2 separate regions of the Homo sapiens genome follow, and region 2 is linked to region 1. The links are contacts of gene promoters, found by promoter capture Hi-C in blood cells and fetal thymus (Javierre and others, 2016). All regions are on one chromosome and are shown on one strand. The core of a region is centred on a gene start or on the middle of the fragment in contact, and the rest is flanking DNA. Distances in the headings are between cores, read along the strand shown.

Evidence for each region. Contacts are between HindIII fragments. The CHiCAGO score rates a contact against its expected background, and 5 or more counts as called.
Region 2: a contact is called between a fragment that was not itself captured here and the fragment with the promoter of ATP11A in region 1, in 1 of 17 cell types (M2 macrophages). The highest score is 5.6, in M2 macrophages.

Annotation. Positions count from the first base shown.
Region 1 is chr13:112,688,788-112,691,601 of GRCh38, reverse strand. ATP11A (ATPase phospholipid transporting 11A) reads right to left here and starts at 1,564. Exons shown (of 30, transcript NM_015205.3): 1 at 1,147-1,564. The coding sequence starts at 1,185. It overlaps LOC102725228 (a long non-coding RNA gene), which reads left to right and starts at 1,787. Exons shown (of 2, transcript NR_187633.1): 1 at 1,787-1,939; 2 at 2,733-2,814. RefSeq lists silencers at 772-1,011, 1,032-1,961 and an enhancer at 2,210-2,727. The HindIII fragment of the contact is 3,702 bases long and covers 1-2,814 here.
Region 2 is chr13:111,281,864-111,284,677 of GRCh38, reverse strand. ARHGEF7 (Rho guanine nucleotide exchange factor 7) reads right to left here. Exons shown (of 22, transcript NM_001354046.2): 16 at 1,315-1,539. Among named protein-coding and RNA genes, the nearest start is that of TEX29, 37 kb to the left of the region's middle. The HindIII fragment of the contact is 4,043 bases long and covers 1-2,814 here.

The DNA of each region.
Region 1 (2,814 bases), core at 315-2,814:
GACCAGTGACCGCCAGCCTCTATGGAACAATGAAGCCTCTTGTGCAAGACAGTGGCAGGAAACGCTGTGCTTGGGACAGTTTTCTTCCTCTCCTACACACACACACACACACACACACCCTTTTTTTTTTTTTTTTTTGATACAGAGTCTCGCTCTGTCACCCAGGTTGGAGTGCAGTGGCTCGATCTCGGCTCATTGCAACCACCGCCTCCCGGGTTCAAGCGATTCTCCTGCCTCAGCCTCCTGAGTAGCTGGGATCCCAGGCGCCTACCACCACGCCCGGCTAATTTTCGTATTTTTTAGCAGAGACGGGGTTTCACCATGTCGGTCCGGCTGGTCTCAAACTCCTGACCTCGTGATCCGCCCGCCTCGGCCTCCAAAAGTGCTGGGATTACAGGCGTGAGCCACCGCGCCCGGCCACACACCCCTTTTTACACCTAACGCCAGGGATTCCGGTTTCCCCTCCTCTGGTGTAAAACAAAATCAACTTTTCCCCTTCCGAGTCTTCCCTCCTGAGCTCTTCACTTGCTTATCACTGAAGGGGCAAATTCCAGAGGAACCCAAGAAGACCCCGGACTTCTGATCTAATTGGTTACTTTAAGGTAAAAAATAAAAAGATTCCAAACTCCGCTTCTGAATCCCCCAGGGGTGTTAAAGAACAAACACAATTGCTACCTTTTTCTGCAGAAGTGTAACGCTTCCTCCCAATCCCTTAATCTTACAGACACGGCTGCGCGGAAGCCGCATCTGAAGGTTCCTCCCCAGACCCGGGCCCCGGCGGGGTCGAAGTTGGCTCCCTCCGGGCGCCCGGTCCGCCGGGACAGCTCGAACCCCAGCCAGCCTCTCCGAGGGACCCCCAGGGCGCTGCGGGCGGGAAGGGGGCGCCAGGCGGCCGCGGCCAGGGAGCAGGTGGCCGCCCGGGGCTGGGGCCCCGCGCTGTGCCCACCTAGACCCCGTCGGAAGCCCCAGGGTGTCAACTCCGAGGCCCCTCCCCAGCATCCCGCTCGTCCCCGGGGGCGGTCCGAGTCCCAGACATCGGAGACCTCCCGGGACCCCGGGGCTGGACCGGCCACAGGGTCCGGGCTGCGGGGCCGGCCCGCGTCTGTCTGGTCCCCGGGTCCCCCAGCCCGCGCCGGGAGCACTCACGTATCTGTGCACGAGCGTCCGCACGAGGCTGCAGTCCATGGCTCCTCCGGCCGCTCCCGCTCCGCCGTTCAGCGCCCCCGCGCCCGGCTCGGCGCGCCCATGGGCTCCGGGGTACTAGTGCGGCCGCGCCCCCCGCTCCGGTCACGGCCTCGGCGCGCCGGGCGGTGCAGGGGGCGGCCGCGGCCCCTCCGCGCTCATGCCCGGCCCGGCCGGCGAATGCTGGGTCCGCGGCCCCGCGCGTCGGCAGCTGCTCCACTGGCGGCAAGGCTGCTGCTCGGGGCCGCGCGCGCGCGCTCTGGCGCCTTCTCTCTCCCCGTCGGTCCGCCCGCTCGGTTGGGCTCGGCTGGAGCACCCCGGCCGCGGCGGAGCCTGCGCTCTGCTCCTCCCGAGTCTCCTCCTCCCCTGCCCGCCGCCCTCTGGAGCCTCCGGGCCCCGCTGGCTCCTGCCCCTGCTCCGGGCGCGCACGTCACCGGCGCAAGTGAGCATGCGCCCCGCGGCCGCAGCCCCCGCCGGCCCCGCGCCCACACCCGCGCTCGCACCCGCGCGCCGGCCCTGCCCCCTCGCGCCTCCGCCCGGGCCCCAGACCCTGGGGGCAGAGGGCAGAGGGCAGAGGTCAGAGGCCGCGGGGAGGAACCCCCCTGTTGCTTCCGCCTCCCGGGGCGCAGGCGCTGGGCGCGGCGGGGAAGGGACTCGGCACTGGGGAAACCCGGAGTTTCAGCCAGGGTCCCAGGGCTTCCTTCCCGGGTTCCTGCCGGAAAACTTTTCTCCTCCGCCCGGAAGCCTCGATGGGGCAGTGAGATCGCGGGGCGAGGTGGGAGTGTGGGAGGGGGCCGCGGGCAGAGAGCGGGAGTCCGGCTGGGTGGGAGATCTCCTGAGCCGAAGCTGGGTCTCGCCCCAGCGTGGCGCCACCGACCCGCAGGCTTTTCCTGCTCTGCAGATGGAGAGACACAGGGACGCTCCTCAGGTGGCTGCCCTGGGCTGCCAGCCTGTCAGTGGGAGGGGAGGGTGCAGACAAGAGGCCCCTGTTTCCGAAACCCCTCTGTCCCCAAAGCTGCGACAGCAGAAGACACTTAGGCGGCCTGAGGGGTTGGTGAACCACAGAGGAGCTCAGCTTCGCCTGGTCTCCAGCTCCCGGTGGCGGTGGCGTGTCCTTAATGCTGCTGGCTTTGAACTGGACTGAGAACTATTTACCACACAAACACCACCATTTCAATCCCGGAGAATGCCTGTTTTCCCTAGGGTGACCTGGCCGGGGTAACAAACACTTGTTCTCTAATTCCACGGTCAGCCTTGACTTAATTGAGGTACTTGATTTCCAACTTCCTGTCTTGCTGCCACAGATAATCACTGATGAAACCAAACAGGCAACACCTTTTGGTGGCCTGTGGAGAGCGCTGCCCCGTCTGGGTCTTAGGAAGGCAATTGAATATGAATGTTCTCCCGAGTGCTTGTGGAAAAGAGATGGTGTTGGCCACTTTTTAGACGAAGAGAAATGAGTACTAGTGAACACTAATCATAGTGACTAAACAGTAAACGGCTCCCATTTGTTGTCGGCTAAAGCACTGATTCTTCATTTTCCATCCCAGCCTGTCCTGCTCTGGCCTGCCCTGTGCTCAGGAAGCTGGCGGTCCCCCTCAGTGGATCTTCACCCACAGGGACAACCTGCTG
Region 2 (2,814 bases), core at 170-2,669, 1.4 Mb after region 1:
CCCAGTGTGGAGTTGGCAAAGCAAATGCAGCCAGACTTATCAAAAAAAATTGTTTATCTTCACTTCAATACCCCTTCCGTTGCCCTTTCTACTTCTTTGCCCAACAGTTTTATCCCAATTTTCTTCCCTAGTAATTCAGTCTCCACCAGTTCTTGTAGTAGCTCACTTTTTCTTTAGACTGTGCACACTAAAGTATACAATAAGGAACAGCAACATTCTTCAAGTAACTTCCCATGATAGAAAATGGAAATTCTGACTTGCACACATGATTACCTGAAAGATATCATAAAAACAAAGACTCAGAACAAAAAATGAAAAGCACAGATCCTAATTTCTCATACAGTACTTTCCTGTGGGCCTTAAAACCCCCAGGGCTGCCGGCAAGAATGTAGAAAAAGTCTGCTCCAGTTCCCTTGGCAAATGTGGCCTTGACCAGACACAGAGGCACAATGCCAGGCAAGAGCGTGTCACCATCCTCACGCTCACTCACACCCCACCAACGGGCACTGCTGCTCACACTGACGCGCACGATACCCACACTCTCACCGCCACTCCTCATACCTCACCACCATGCACGCTCAACTGCTTATGAAAACAACTCTCATCTCAATTATCAGCTTCCTCAGGTGAAAGTACTTCTCAGAACAGATTTCTAAAGACACTTCCTTTCCTCATCCAAGCTGGTTTAGGTAAAAGTGTAAGGAAGTGTTAACACTTCTATTTATTCATTGGAATCGTACTTTATTTGCGCCTAGCAAATATAAAAATGCCGGATGAGAACAGAGACAAGCAAAGACCGCATCATGATTTCTTATGCATCAAAGGGGGAAACCGCCTAAGTGATTGTTTTTCATTTGTATTAGTAAATGTTCTCTTCATCTCAAATGGCTTCTGGATGACAAAATGCAGGGCTCCTGGACAGGATCCCCAACCTAGAGGAGGGGTCGTTAGACGCAGCAGACAGCGTGCAGATGCTGAGCGATGGCCTCACACACAGGGAGTGAAAGCCACCTGGGCTCAGCGCCTTTCCAGCTCCTGGCCCCTGGCGGCACACTCCTCCGGCAAGTGCAGTAAAGGCCCCCCTGTGCATGGCAGAAAGGAGGGGGACCCTGCACATCGCCTTCCCACACAGGTTACCACGGGCCTCTCAGCAGCAGAGCAGATAACCAGAGAACCAAGGCAGACCCCCCCTTCTCAGTTCTCTAGGAGTTAGGGTGCATTTTGCTGTACACAGAAGGCCCAGCACGTGGGCACACCCAGGGCCCGAGGCATGCTCACCGTCATCTGGCTGTTTGAGTGGTCAAGGGACCTCACCTCCTTGTAGCAGAGAGCAGCTGAGGGCCGGAGGGGAGGCGCGGGCCGCAGGCAGCTCAGGCTCCAGGGCTTGGGTGTTTTCGGAGGCTCCAGGGGTCCCCAGTTGATGGTGGTGTGCGGGGTGCCGTGGTGGGAGGGGTGGGGCAGCGTGTGGTAGGCGGGCGTCAGCGGCGCGGGCTTGCTGTCTGCGTGCTTGCTGGACGGAGTGACCGGGTGGGAGGGGAGCTGCCAAGGGCACAGAGCGGGAAGGGCAGAGAACATGAGACTCGCGTGCTCACCGCGAAAGGGCACTTATCACGCACTTCCTTCTGCTCTTTAAACACTCCATGTGAAATAAACCTCAGGATTTATCATTTCATTCGTATCTCTGGCTCTCAGCAGTCAGTTTTTGGGGCCAAACACTAGCTCGCGCCACCTGGGCCGAGCGTGGGGCTCCTCACGGCGTCTGCCCCAGACAGGAGGGGCAGCTCTAGCTGGGGCCCCAGCACTCAAAAGACATCCACTAGCCACATTTATTAGCTACGGAGTAACATTTATAGAAAAAAGGTACTTCATCTAGTAAAAAGATGAGAATTTCACAAAAGCACACAGGGCATGTGGCTGTAAGAAGGAAGGTGATTCCCCCCCAGCCACGTATTATTCTTCACCTGGTGATAAAGTACTGGGCGAAACTAAGGCCTGATCGCCTAGTTTTGTTTTTTAAAAAAGTTTTCCTGGCACACAGGCAGGCCTGTGCCTGTCTAAAACTGCTGTTGTGTTCCAAGGGCAGAGTACAGCTGCAAGAGGCCTGAACCTGTAAAGCAGAGAACGTTTACCATCTGGATCTTTACTGAACACTGCCAAACCCTGGTATTAAAACCAATTATGTTCTTAGAAAACTCAACTTTAATCAAAACAAAGTTAATCAAAAATTAACTTCTTAGAGCGGTGTGCCATTAATGCATTTTATATTCCTGGAAAACCCAAAATATTCCATCACAATGACAGTTAAATGAGAAAAGTTAAATAAGTCATTCTCAAAATCAGCCAATAATGACCTCAAATTAGCCAACAATAGTAAGGTGCATTTAATGGGAGAACAAGCTGTGTGGCGCTGTGAACTGGAAACGGAGTGGGGCCGGCATTCTGAGGAAGTGCGCGACCTTCAAAACACAGGCTGAGAGGGACGGCAGCTAATGCCACAATTTCAAGAATAGAAGCCATCAACTTCCTGCAACGATCACATTCTAGTCCCTGCATGGGGGAGGGAATTGTGTGAGATGCAGGTCATGCTATGAAGCCACTGTAAGGTCATCTTTTCATAGGAAATAATGTATAGATGGATAAAATTATGTAAGACATCCCTTCTAGCAACAACGTCAAAGCAGTGTCTGGTTTTGTTTCTCCTTTCTTGAAAAAGTCAAAGGAAGTATGCTTTATGCTAAAATTAGAAAATGATTTCAGCTGGTCAGAGTTGGATCACAGAATACATCATCCCACACAAGAAACTCTGTAGGAGAA